5 separate regions of the Homo sapiens genome follow, and regions 1, 2, 3 and 5 are each linked to region 4. Evidence: promoter capture Hi-C in 16 types of primary human blood cells and fetal thymus (Javierre and others, 2016). All regions are on one chromosome and are shown on one strand. The core of a region is centred on a gene start or on the middle of the fragment in contact, and the rest is flanking DNA. Distances in the headings are between cores, read along the strand shown. Region 1 overlaps PLCD4 (phospholipase C delta 4). Region 2 overlaps LOC105373883 (a long non-coding RNA gene). Region 3 has its middle 2.3 kb from the start of RESP18. Region 4 holds the start of LINC00608 (long intergenic non-protein coding RNA 608). Region 5 overlaps STK36 (serine/threonine kinase 36).

Region 1 (2,700 bases), core at 111-2,610, 340 kb after region 4:
ATCTCCAATTCAGAATTCTATAACTGCTTCACAGTATAATTCTGTAGTGCCTTACTATATAATTGATCATCTAAACTGAGACACACTGGGAAAACTTAAAGAGGGTACTATTAATAATTATGCTGGGACAACAGACATAAACCAGGATGGTTCCAGCCAGACTCTTCAGGAAGGCTGGGACCACATAACCTTTTGTCTGCTTTTGCCCTGATTCTTAAAAGCCATACTCTGTGTCCTTCCTATGTAGCACATGCAAGAGGTCTCCTGGGAACCTCTTTCTCTACCTTTTCCTTGTCTCACCTGACTACCCAGATGTCCCCACAACCCTTGTACCTCCCCTTCTTGCCCAACAATGACAGACCATATTGAAGCCAAATTGGAGAGAGATGTATTTATACCAGTGGGGCTAAGGAGGAAGCAGTCCAGTGGGGGACTTTGAGTGCTGTGCAGTGTTCTCTTAAGAGTCGTAGTACAGTCCTGGGGTCAAGTCTCTTTCCCTAATCTTTGCTGGGGAAGCCTTGAGCCTTGATTTATCCTTCCCTTGGCTTTGGGCTTTGAGGAAGTTGGGGATGGAGGGGATGATGCTTCTTTAGGTTTCTCTATTCCAAGCCCCTCTGAATTTCTAGTTGCAACCTGCCTTCACACAGAGTTGATGGGAAAGATTAGTTGTAGATGTCGGTATGGGATTGAGCCTACAGCAAGAGGAAGAAGGGAACTCCAGTATAGAGTACACAAAGGAAAAGGGCAGGAAAGATACCAAAGGCTTATGAAAACAAAGGAAGGGAAGAAAAGAGAAAAAAGGTGGAAAATCAGGTCCCAGATTGCTTGTTAGGAAGAATGAGGTAATTTTGTGCCTAGGAATGCACAATCCAAAGCTTGATTTTCACCACCTCCATTTGTTCTCTCGAGCATCCTTCCAGATGTTTCTCCCCGTCTAAAGCCAGCACACCAACCCTTCCCGTGAAATGCCCACCTCAGGACTCATCCCCCTCCAGGCCTTCCTGGATGCAGATATACACAAAGATGGAAGCTGGGCGGAGGCTGATGCCATCTTTGGACAGCAGGTGAATGTGGCGGTAACCTGGAAGGGGCAGGAGGACAGCATTAGGAAGGCAGCCAGAGCTGGGGTATTGGCCAGGGGCCAAAGGGGCTGGCTCACCTTGTTGCATGCAGGTCCAAGGCAGGGTGTACTGACCAATAAAGTCATTTCGGGATTTCCAGTCATAATCCATTACCACAAAACGCAGCATGGCAAGTTCAGGCACCAGCACCCGGAAACATAGTGTCTGCCCCCAGTATGGATTAAAACCTGAGTTGGTGGACAGAAAGAAATAAGAAGACATTATGACAGTTTTCTTGACTGGGTTGCTTTTCTTGTGTTCTCATTTAATCTAGATGGCAATCAGCATTTTACAGGTAAGGAAAAAGGCTCAGAGTAAGCAAGTAATTTGCCCAGGTCACTGGAGCTTTTAAGTGAAGAGCCAGGATTCTTTGTACTGTTCCACACTGCCTCCCATGTGGGGACATGCAATAACAGATGCTATACTTAATGGAAGACAGACTAGAAGGAAAACTAATCATGCTCCTACCCCCACCTCCCCAGCACTGCCAGTTTCTCACCATTGTTCTCCACATAGTTGGTCTCCTGCCGTGCTGTGTCTAGACGAACGCCAAAGATCTGCACTTTCACCAGTGGATCCACAATGGACCCCTCTTTGGTCTTGTCCACTTTGGGGAGTTGCTGACCGCTGATCACCTGTAGTCAGGGCTCTGGAATCTCACAAGTTCCTGCTCAGCCCAGCCCCACCCGACCCTACTCCCAACCCCAGGGGAGAAGAAGCTTTTTGGTTTGTAAAACATCCTCCATGGGTAATATATTTTCTTCTAGTATTCTATCTGCAATTTAAAATGCACCCAAAGGCCGGGCACGGTGGCTCACACCTGTAATCCCAACACTTCAGGAGGCCGAGGTGGGCAGATCACTTGAAACCAGGAGACCAGCCTGGCCAACATGGTGAAACCCTATCTCTACTAAAAATACAAAAATTAGCCAGGCATGGTGGCGGGCGCCTGTAGTCCCAGCTACTCGGAAGGCTCAGATGGGAGAATCACTTGAACCCAGGAGGCGGAGGTTGCAGTGAGCCAAGATCATGCCACTGCACTCCAGCCTGCAGCAGAGCAAGACTCTGTCTCAGAATAAACAAATAAATTAAATGGATCCAGGTAGAAATTCAACAGTTTGAAAGTAGGCATGCTAATGACAGCAGCCACTTTTTTTTTTTCAAAGAGACACGATCATACTCTTGACCAAGCTGGAATGCAGTGGGGCAGTCATAGCTCACTGCAACCTCCATCTCCTGGGCTAAAGTGACCCTCCAGCCTTAGCCTCCTGAGTAGCCAGGACTATCTATAGTCATGTGCCACCATGCCAGGCTAATTTTTAAATTTTTTGTAGAGACGGGAGTCTCTACAAAATTTTTAAATTTTTTGTTGAGACCAGTTTCAGACTGGTCTCAAACTCCTGGGCTCAAGCAGTCCTCCTGCCTTGGCCTCCAAAGCGCTGGGATTACAGGTGTAAGCTATCGCTCCCAGCCAGCCTCTTTTATAGCACTTCCTGTGTGCCAGGAATTGTAAGAACTTTATATTAACTGTTATACTCCTTATAACCCTGTGAGGCAGGTGGTAGTGTTACCCCTATTT
Region 2 (2,700 bases), core at 18-2,517, 390 kb before region 4:
GGGATTAGGGGTGTGAGCCACTGCGCCCAGCCTGCCAACAATCTTAAAACTAATTTTATTTACCCAAAAGACTTAACAAGGCCCATGTGTTCAGATTCCTGTCTGTGTCCCCATCTTTGGAGGAAGGACACCTTTCACATGGGGAAAGGATCAGGGAGATCCCTTCAGGAGAGAAGGATCAGGGAAGTCAGAGAGATTGTCCTGCACATGCTGTTTCTCAGATCCTTCCAGCTTAAAATATTCAACATGCCAGTGTGCCATGTTTCTGGGTGGCATGTCCTGAACCCTCTTATTGGATAGTATAAATGGCTATTCACTCTGAAAATCTGTTGAGCTGTATCTTTACATTCTGTCTACTTCTGTTCATATGTATTACCTTTCATAATCAAAAGGTAAAAATACTTTTTTTAAAAAAAAGCATAAAAGCTTCTAAACACAAAAGTTGGTGTCAGAAATATTCTAAATGGAAAGAGGAAAAGAGTGGCTCCTAAGATGACTGGATTATTAGAAGTAAAGAAATGCCCTCCCTTCTTGCCCAATAAACTCCAGAAGCTCCCAGAGTGGCCCTAGGCGAGAAGAGATGAGAGGGAGGGTCAGCCGTGCTCTCCAGGGAAATCCCCTTGTTTTCCCCAGGCCAGCCCCAAAGGGGCACTAGTCTACACTGAACTCTCAACTTCCAGGCAATAGAGACCACCCTTTCTCTGCTGCTTTATTTGACAGCTTAGGAAAGACTGAAATGTTCAAACAAAAATGAACAACAACAGAAAGCCTTGACAAAGGAAAGCCAGATGCAGAGGACCATGGATCCACATATCCTAAATGCAAGGGAGAGCCTGCTCTCCAGGCTCCAGAGCCTTCCACTCATGGGCTACCCCAGGAATAATAGGGACTCCTCCCTGAGTCTCCCCACTCCTGACTCCAGGCTTTCCTCCCACAGCAGGTGACATTCCTAAGTTTGTATGCATGTGCCAGCACACATTTATATATACAAGTGCAATATGTACATAGTAATGCACACACATATTCTCAAACCTACACACATACACCTCACACACATACATAAACGTAACATATATACACCTACACACACATAAACAGACACATGCGGACTTACACATGGACATCTATACAGAAACACACACATGTAAGCATACATGCACACACACAACACAGGTGCACATGCACATACAATGTTTGCAAACATATACAGCCACAGGCATAGACACACATATACACCTGGATACATATACAAACCCATCACACATGCATACATATGCTCATTCACATACTACAAATACATACAAAAAGGCATACACATATATGCACACATGCACAACATACAAACACAGAGACATGCATGTAGGCATAATACATGCATGCATACTCGTGCGCAAAAAACACACATGTGCAATACACAGATACATATACATAAATGCATGCATACACATATGCAGACAATACATAGATACATGTCACACAAACATATTGCTATATATCCATATATACATATGCAAAAACATACACATATATACACAAACACACACATCTTTATGTACACACCCACAAACACACACCCCACATACCCACACGCACATACTGCATGTGATAGCCATCCTACAAGATGACCTCCAGTGATCCTTACCTCTTGGAATTCATGCCTTTGTGTAGTCCCTCCCACAGTGTATCAGGGTTGGTCTCTGTGGCCAGTATAATATGGCAGAAATGATGGCATGGGACTTCCAAAGCTAGGTTTTAAAAACACTGTGGCTTTTGCCTGGTTCTCTCTCTCTCTCAGGTCACTCACTCCAGAGGAAGCCAGCTGCTGTGTCATGAGGCACTCAAGCAGCCATATGGAGAGGCTGATGTGGTAGGGAACTGAGACCTCCTGCCAACAGCCAGCATCGTCTTGCCAGGAGGGTGAGTCATCTTGAAAGTGGATCCTCTAGCCCCACGCAAGCCTTCAGAAGACTACAGCCAACCCTGAGTAACATCTTCACTGCAACTTCAAGAGAGACCCTGAACCAAAAATACCCAGCTAAGCCTCTCTCAGATTCCCAGTCCACAGAAACTGTGAAATAGATGTTTATAGTTTAAGCGACTAAGCTTTGGGGTAATTTGTCATGTAGCAATAAGCCATAGATATTCTTTGCTAAAACTGGATTTTTAAAAAAAGTAATAGACAATGAATACAAGTACACTACATGTACACATATACACATTGACACACACATCCCATCTACATACACAAATACATCTCCCACACATACAAACCTACATACGCACACACAAACACACATGCATACAGTACACATTGATTCATACAAACACATGCACACACATATAAACACATGGACACAACACCCATGCACAAACATATAAACACATGTATACACATATAAACACATGTACGCATGCGCAAGTCCCGAGAACCCACTTCTAGAGTCTTTGGGCTCTTCACCATCTAGATGCCCACCTGGGGCTCCCCATAGAGCTCTGACCCATCTCGGAGGAGCTGCCTCTTCTCTCTCTTTTTTTTTTTTTTTTTGAGATGGAGTTTTGCTCTGTCACCCAGGCTGGAATGCAGTGGCACAATCTCTGCTCACTGCAACCTCTGCCTCCCGGGTTCAAGCAATTCTTCTGCCTCAGCCTCCAGAGTAGCTGGGACTACAGGCACATGCCACCATGGCCAGCTAATTTTTG
Region 3 (2,730 bases), core at 134-2,633, 360 kb before region 4:
TTAATCTTTAGGCTTATGTCTTTTCACACATTTGGGAATTTTTCAGAAATTATTTCTTCAAAATTTTTGTGTGTACTGCACTTTATCCTCTTAATCTGGAATTCCAATGACATTAATTTTGGACTTTTGATATTGCCCTACAGGTCCCTGAAGTTCTGTTAACTTTTTTTTTCCCAATGTTTTTTCTCTCTCTTGTTCTGATTGGATTATTTCTGTTGACCCATCTTCAAGTTGACTGACTCTTCTGTCATTTCTATCCCGCTTGGAGCTCATCCAGTGAGTTTTTATTTTAGTTATTATATTTTTTCATTTCTCAAATGGCACTTTAGAAAAACAAACAGAACAACCAGTGATAGGAGATGGGATTGGAGAAATAAGTCCAAAATTGCCTAGACAGAGCTCTGTAGGCAACAGTAGAGCGTCCAGATCTTATGCAAAGTACAGAGGAAAAATCACTGGGGATTTTAAGGAAGGGAATAGAATTATGTGATATATAATTTTAAAAGGCTACTTGAGAATATATTGATAGGGGAAAGAGTGGAATCAATAGATCAGTTAGGAAGTGTTGTCTTGGTCCAAGAAAGACTGTGGTGGCCTGGGCGAGGCAATCACAGGAGCCTAGCACCTCTATCTGGCCCTGCACTGCCCCAACAGGCAGCCTGAACCTCAGGGGGCTCTAGATCCTTATGCTTCCAAGGAAACTGCTTCTTGATTCCTGTCACCATGGCAGCTACACTTCTCCTACCTGGATTGGTCGCTGGAGTGGCATCATCAGCACTAAATGACTGATCCTCACAATAAGAACTGGTTGTCATGGTGCTACCAATTATGCAAACAAGAATCTGCCTTTCTTCTGCAGGCTCAGCGTCCTTGACTAGCTCTGTACCTAAGGGAAAATCAGGGAGAGAGAGAAGATCATGACGTCGGAGCCAAGGGGAGGCTAGCTGTCAGGTGGTTGCTGAGTCACTATTCCTCAAGACTTGCCCAAGTCAAGACTGCAACTAGAGGCCCTTATATAGTGGGGTGAGGGGAGCTTACACTGTGGAGGGGGAGCCCCTGGCACATATACACACAAATTCCAAATCCGATTTTCCTCCCATTTTAGAGCTTCTTTGAACTGTTTCCTTCTCTGAGCAAAACTTTGTCACAGATTGAGGCCTTCCTCCTCTCCCAGCCCCATTACCCTGCAGAGAGGCAGTTTTAGGACAACTTGCTACTGGATTTTTTAAAGTGAGTTTTCATGAAAATTCTTTAAGCAGGCTTGTCTGCAAGTAAGACAGTGGGCCTCAGCCAGAGCTTCTGAATTAAAATATGTAAAGCCAGAACAGAGAGGACATTTGGGGTGGGGATTGAAATAGTAAAACTCCTTGGTACACATGGAGCCTAGGCTTCTGATCTCCTTCTCCTTCCGGACATCATTTGTAACATGAATGTAAGACAGAGTAGGACCACAGCTGAATTACAATCTTCCTTCGCCCACTCTCCCCAGCTACACTTTATGGTAGTCTTTCTTTCTTCTTGGGAAAGAAAGTTCCTTCCTACGAACCCCTGGTTCAATAGGCCTGAAAACCTGCTAAGTCTTCTGAGGGTATTACTCTTAGCATTAGAATCCCTTCCAATGAACAGTAAAAAGAAGAGCAGCATCAATGCTCCTGTACATTTATCATTTTGATAGCCATTCTCCTGGTGGTTTAAAATCTTAAAATACAGAGAGGAGCACACTCACCTTTGTTCAGCCGACCCAAAGACCAATATTTCCCTTTTTCCAGGAGCATTATACTTCACAAAGCAGGTTCACGTTCATTTGCTCTTAGGCCTCAAATTATTGCTATAAATTTATTTTAAAATAGCATGTCCAGTACATAATCAGTGACAACCAGATAAACCTCTAGTTTTTGGCGTGACAAGACAGAAACTTGTGTCGGATCCTCCTAACATTGGGTATATACTCTAGGCAAAATATAAAAATAACTGTATGAAAGCATGGAGACTGATCAAGAGTTAGAAACCTACAGGGAGTATAGTCCTCAAAAAAAGGAAGTCCACCAAGTGACTTATACATGTATAGGCTTTTCCTCTGAAGATACTTCAGAGTTCACTGCAGTACACAGGGAAACAGCTCTGTCAGCAACTGGCAGTCTTACTAAGGAAACAGCTTTTGGAGTACAGAGATGCCAGAGCATCTGGAAATTGAGGAAGAAATTTAGAAAATGAATAAATTACAGAGAGAGGAACTCAAAATCTGCATCCTAACTCCCCTCCAATTCTTAGCTATCTTCTAAATGGCACTTGCGCAGGGTGAGATTTCAAGGAACCTAGTGAAAAAGTCAAATATCTGAACAGAGATTTTGGCAGCTGTCACAGTGTTAGGGTGACTGAGTTTGGAGTTCAGGACCCGTAAAATAGAGAGTTTTGGTAAATGACTTTGGGTTATGTTGAAATCCAAAAAGGACCACACCTTAGCCATAAGCACCATATCCCAGGACTAAGAGATACAGGCTAGAATTGAGAATAGGATGAAGTACTCCTTCCCTAACCAGACTGCCACAGGATCAAGACTTTTTACCAAAAATTTAATTGCCTGCCAGAACAAACTCAAACTATTACCCTTTAAAGATAATAATATAATTCAGATCCTTTGTAATGTATCAACCCCAAATGTTCACTATACAAACCCTTAGGTTTAAGTAATCCACTATCTCGACCTCCCAAAGTGCTGAGATTACAAGC
Region 4 (2,700 bases), core at 66-2,565:
GCCATGGAACATGTTGGGTGAGTTCTCTGTCACCAGAGTGTTCAGCAGACCCTTCTGTGAGAAGCAGAGAGGGGAGGTGGACTAGGCGACTTCTCTAACCTTGAGACTCTTGGAATCCTGTGAAGGAGTCAATAAAGGGGGGATTTTAGTCATTGTTGGGGAGCTGGGGGAGATATTGTTAGATTAAGGGATCTTCTTACCTATGAAATTGCATCCTTAAAGCTCACCCCATTACTCTGTTCTTTCCTGTCCACATAGCCAGTTTGGGAGGCTAAGATATAGAACTGGGAACCAGAAATTCTGAGTTCCAGTTGCAGCTTGGCAACTAACTTGCTGTGTGACCTTCACATAATCACATCTCTTTTCTGGGATTTCATTCTCCTCTCATTTAAATAATAAGGCTGAACCAGAGATTTGCAAACTCTGCTCTGTGGAACTTTAAGGGTCAATTAGGTTCTCTCTGTTCCAAAAAAAAAAAAAAAGAAGAGCTGGAAAACGTCTATCCAAGATGACCTACAGGTCGAACCCAATCTCAGAATGCAGTAGATGGGTATCCTCTTCTCCAGATTATCTCAGCTCTAGGAGCCCCTGCCTTTGTGATGTCTCCAAGCCCTGAGTTACTGTGGTCTTGGCAGGACTGTACTCCACCCAATCCCTGAAGAAGCCACAGTCTTACCACACTCAGCTTCCTGATGATCCAGGCCTGTCCTCATGGACCCTTAACCCCTTGGTCCTTGGCTCTCCAAGGTATCGATCCCACCATTGCTTTCCTCTGCCAATCCAGGGTCAAGCCCCTCTTGCATTTTCTGAAGTTCTGAGCCTTTTCTTTATCACCTCATTCAAGTCGCTAGTGAAAGTATGGTTCACTCCCCTGCCGTATGCTTGCACTACAGTTTACAAAATGCTTTCACACCCATCACTTTTTTGACCCCTCCAAGGTTAGGAAGACAGGGCAGGTATTGCTTTATCTGCTGGGAGGATAAATAAACGAAGGCCCCAGATGTTAAATGACTTGGTTGAAGTCCCAGGGCTTGTTCTAAGACCTGTATCTTCTTATTCCTCTGCCAGACCTTTTCCCACTGCTCCAAGTGACCTTTCCACAGTCCTGAGCAGTCACTGATCACTTTGTTTTTAGGATCATTCCCATGCAGGATGACACAGACCCATATCTCCTCCAGTAACATGCGCTCTGTGCAACTAAGCTCCACACACTATCACTTGCAGATGGAATTAGAAGCCCTGCTAACATGCAGCTTGAGGACATTCATGTCCATACTGTTTGGGACCTGCACAGTCACAGTGCAATGATGCCACTGAAGGCACTGAGGCTCACAGAGCACTCTCATATGCCAGCTCACGTGACCATAGACAGACATCATAATGGGCCACTGTGATGCACTTTTCTCAGAGCCTTCTGCTCTTCTGGCCTCCACCTTTCCTTTAATATGTCTTTGAAATGCACCAAAATGAACTTGTTTCTTTAGCTATTTATAATCCATGTCAAGTGGATCTGCTGATGATAAAAGTATGCCTTACCACTCATTGAACATGACTCTGCCAGGCTCTGCCCTATGCTAATGTTTTACAGGTGGTATTTCCTTTGACCTGGCTACAACCTTACCAGATGGGGATGGTTATCTCTGTTTTCAAATGAGGGAACCAAGGCTTGGAGAAGTGAAGTGGCTGGGCCAGCCCATGACCTGACAACTGAAATCCTTACCATCCCACTAGATCCCCTCTTACTGGCCTTCCTGGATAGCTTCTTCCTCATGTAAACATGACCTGCTGCTTGCCCAGTACAGGTGCACACCGCCTACAATTGGTTATAAAGGACAAACTGACAGCTTGCCTTATGAGTGTCCTTGGTTAGGTCTCTGTTTGATAAGGAAGTACATTTTGTCCCTGATAAGAAATAGAGACTATTTTGTTGCCCCAATGCCTTTTGCAAGCTTTCACTTTCCTAACTGAGGCGCTGCAGGCTTGGAGAAGATCACTGTACTCTGAGGTGGGGTGGGGCTCTGATTATATATTGACTTGAGTGGCATTTCCTACTTTTGTTTGGTCAGCAGGATTTCTCCATGACACTCCTCCATCTTGGGATGACGCATGTCATGTATAGAGGTGAATGGTTCAATGTCCCATTGACTGTGATGTTTCCTATTTCTTTTGTTTTCTTTGTTTAGAGATAGAGTCTCACTCTGTTGCCCAGGCTGGAGGACAGTGACATGATCATAGCTTACTGCAACCTTGAACTCCTGGGCTCAAGAGATCTTCCCATCTCAGCCTCCCATGTAGCTGAGACTACAGGCATGCACCACCATGCCCAGCTTGTTTTAATCTTATTTTGCTTTTGTAGAGATAGGGGTCTCACTGTGTTGCCCTGGCTGGCGTCAAACTCCTGGCTACAGATGATTCTCCCACCTTGGCCTCCCAAAGTGCTTGGATTACAGGCATGAGACACTGTGCCTGGATGAATATTTCTTTCTTTCTTTCTTTTTTTTTTTTTTTTGAGACAGAGCCTTGCTCTGTCGTCCAGGCTAGTGCAATCTTGGCTCTCAGCAACTTCCACCTCCTGGGTTCAAGTGATTCTCCTGCCTCAGCCTCCCATGTAGCTGGGATTACAGGCACCCATCACCACGCCCAGCTAATTTTTGTATTTTTAGTAGAGATGGGTTTTCACCATGTCGGCCAGGCTTGTCT
Region 5 (2,700 bases), core at 158-2,657, 270 kb after region 4:
GTCAAGAAATCCTGTTTGTTCCATGTTCAAAATATATTCAAAATTTGACTACTTTTTTATCACTCCATAGGTATCACCCCAGTCGCCATCCAGGACACCATTGTCTCTTGCCTGGATTATTATAACAATAGCCTCCTAACTGCTTATCCTACTTCGCATTCTCCCCTACTCCCCATAGCCATTCACAAGACCAGAATGAAGAATGATCCGTTTAGGATGCAAGGTAGTTCATAAAATTCTCTGTTCAAAAGCCTGCAATAGATGCCTCCTTCATTCAAAGTAAGAGCCCAAGTCTTCACCAAGGTCTACAAAGCCTACAATATCTGGCCCCCACCATTACCTTCCTGTCTCATTTCCTACTATTCTCCACCTTCTTTACTCACTTAATCCATACTGGTTCCTCATAGCTCCTCAAGCATGCCAGGCATGCTTTCATCTCAGGGCCTTGGCTTTTCCCCAAAATAGGTGCACAACTCACTCCCTCGCCTCCTTCGAGTCTTTTCTCAAGTGTCACCTTCTAGTGAGGCCTACCCTGACCATCCGACTCAGCACTCCTCATCTCCTTTCCCTGGTTTCTTTTTCTCCATAGCTTTTACCACCTTCCTACATACTATTCTTTTAATAATTTCACTATCTCCCCGACCAGAATGGAAACTCTATGATGGGCACTGTTTTATCTCCTGTACCTAGAATAGTATCTGGCATACAGAAAGGACTCAAAAAATATACATTGAACTGAATTGAGATAATCTGGATAGAAGAAAATTATGGTGCTCCCTAGAAAAATATTATTTTTGCTAAAGTATAAACACTGTGGACAATGAAGATGAGGGTTAAACAAAATTTCTTATAAAAATAAGGGCACTTTACTTGTCTTTCATTTCTAAAACAACTGGAATTTAAGGAAGGACAGAAAGGAGTCTCCTCATTTTATGGATGGAGAAATCAAGGCCCTGGAAGCTTGTTCTAAGCCATCCAATGAGTTAAGGTTTTCCAATGCTTCCAGTTAGATTATAATTCTAACAGGTCTGACTAAAAGCCCTTTCTGGTAAATTGTACAATCTTTAAAATAGCTATCCTTCTACAGCAGCTTGGAGTCCCTACACATTAGAACTCCACTAAATATTAAAATTAGTCACTAAGTCTGAGCAACCTAATTGACCGCTCTGTTGAATCTTACCCTTTCCTATTTCAGCTCCACCGGCCTTGACTTGAAAGTAGGTAACCAAATATAGTTCATCTAGGAAGGGGGAAATTGGTAAAGGCAAGAAATGATATAAATAAGCTGCCAGACCAGGATCTTGTGTGAACACGATACCAGCACCTCCAACACCACATAGAAGCTGAAAGAGGGGTTGAGCCTCTCAACCCTTGTCCTGGGAGCTTCAAGTATGGTGAGGCACAACTTTTATTAAAAGAGTTTACAAACAGAACTATTAAACACACACACACATACACACACACATATACACACACACCCCAAAAAAAGATACACTCTCCACGCCCACCCACAGATAGGAATGTTGGCTAAGGGATAATCCCTCAATAACAGGGACTGATGGCATTGATCCCCACAGCCTAGAGCTGAGACAGGCTCTGTCTTCATCACTGTCCTGGGGCCAGCACGTCTAAGGCAAAAACCTGCTGGGAAGATTAAAGGAGCTCCAGAAAGGAAGAGATCTTTCAGGTTGAGGTTTTTCCCTAAGGTCCGTGAGGCAGGTCCCTAGAGTTAAAGGCACATTATTGGAGAAAAGGCCCCTGGATGTAGAGAAGAAAGGACTCTTCTCTGGCACCAACAGCAATAAAATTTACTGGTTGAAAACATCCTGCATCTGGGAGAAGGAAGAAGCTTTATATATAAATCTCTTCTAGTTTCTTGTTCTCAGTTGAGTTGGCAGCTTATCTCTTTTCTAGTCTCTTTAGCTCTCAGTTGAGTTGGCGGCTTGTGTAGTAGAATAAGAAAGAGCTGGCAACCAAAGTTGGAGGCTGGACCGCAGGAATCTGGAATCACATGCTATGGGCTGGCCTCAGGAGGTGAATGAGTTTCCTGCAGTGTTTGGCAGAGGCAGGCCTAGGACTGCTGTGTGGCAGTGACTGATTCCCCAGAGAGAGCAAGGATAGTTTCTCACTGGCACCCAGGGACACCAGTACCTGTAGGATAGAGAACAGATGATAGAACAGAACATGAGGCTCAGAAATGGTGGTGTCTGGGGCAGGTGCGGAGGACTCTCATTTACCCAGGAATTCCCACTCGAGAAGAGGAAGAAAAAGGAAATGGGCTCTTGGGGACTTGGAATAGACTGAATGGCAGAAGAGAAACCTTGGAGATAGGAATCATCAGGACCAGAAGTCTACTTCCATTCTCTTTGGTTATAGACCATGAAACCAAGGCACTAAGGGACACATATACTTGTCCCCAGGAAGACTTGATGAATGCAGCAGTAACTCACAGTAAGCCAAAAGGTCTAATTCCTAGCCTTCAATGCAGACCAGTGAGTTCTAACCTCATTACCACCAAGAATCCCATTAATTATTTTCCCCATGGATTGCACAAGATTCCTATAGGATCTTCACCATCGGCCAGGCAAGGTGGCTCATGCCTGTAATCCCGTACTTTGGGAGGCCAAGGCGGGCGGGTCACGAGGTCAGGACATCGAGACCATCCTGGCTATCACGGTGAAACCCCGTCTCTACTAAAAA

What was found. The method cuts DNA at HindIII sites, captures the fragments that hold promoters and counts their contacts. A CHiCAGO score of 5 or more calls a contact.
Region 1: a contact is called between a fragment that was not itself captured here and the fragment with the promoter of LINC00608 in region 4, in 1 of 17 cell types (M2 macrophages). The highest score is 5.0, in M2 macrophages.
Region 2: a contact is called between a fragment that was not itself captured here and the fragment with the promoter of LINC00608 in region 4, in 8 of 17 cell types (M2 macrophages, activated CD4 T cells, non-activated CD4 T cells and 5 more). The highest score is 8.6, in M2 macrophages.
Region 3: a fragment that was not itself captured here is called in contact with the fragment with the promoter of LINC00608 in region 4 in 9 of 17 cell types (M2 macrophages, M1 macrophages, erythroblasts and 6 more); the score reaches 10.0 in M2 macrophages.
Region 5: a contact is called between a fragment that was not itself captured here and the fragment with the promoter of LINC00608 in region 4, in 2 of 17 cell types (M1 macrophages and M2 macrophages). The highest score is 5.9, in M1 macrophages.

What each region holds. Positions count from the first base shown.
Region 1 is chr2:218,634,852-218,637,551 of GRCh38, reverse strand. It overlaps PLCD4 (phospholipase C delta 4), which reads right to left. Exons shown (of 16, transcript NM_032726.4): 14 at 1,621-1,756; 15 at 1,160-1,309; 16 at 377-1,081. The coding sequence ends at 975. ZNF142 (zinc finger protein 142) reads left to right here. Exons shown (of 11, transcript NM_001379659.1): 11 at 1-2,700. Among named protein-coding and RNA genes, the nearest start is that of ZNF142, 23 kb to the left of the region's middle. The HindIII fragment of the contact is 965 bases long and covers 878-1,842 here.
Region 2 is chr2:219,361,904-219,364,603 of GRCh38, reverse strand. It overlaps LOC105373883 (a long non-coding RNA gene), which reads left to right. Exons shown (of 2, transcript XR_923917.3): 2 at 1,796-2,102. Among named protein-coding and RNA genes, the nearest start is that of DNPEP, 25 kb to the left of the region's middle. RefSeq lists an enhancer at 1,992-2,041. The HindIII fragment of the contact is 1,677 bases long and covers 429-2,105 here.
Region 3 is chr2:219,333,657-219,336,386 of GRCh38, reverse strand. No RefSeq gene overlaps it. Among named protein-coding and RNA genes, the nearest start is that of RESP18, 2.3 kb to the right of the region's middle. RefSeq lists an enhancer at 465-1,664. The HindIII fragment of the contact is 2,771 bases long and covers 1-2,730 here.
Region 4 is chr2:218,974,899-218,977,598 of GRCh38, reverse strand. LINC00608 (long intergenic non-protein coding RNA 608) reads right to left here and starts at 1,315. Exons shown (of 2, transcript NR_024385.1): 1 at 201-1,315; 2 at 1-117. The HindIII fragment of the contact is 22,563 bases long and covers 1-1,951 here.
Region 5 is chr2:218,701,317-218,704,016 of GRCh38, reverse strand. STK36 (serine/threonine kinase 36) reads right to left here. Exons shown (of 27, transcript NM_015690.5): 27 at 1,302-2,151. The coding sequence ends at 2,008. Among named protein-coding and RNA genes, the nearest start is that of TTLL4, 8.2 kb to the left of the region's middle. The HindIII fragment of the contact is 889 bases long and covers 963-1,851 here.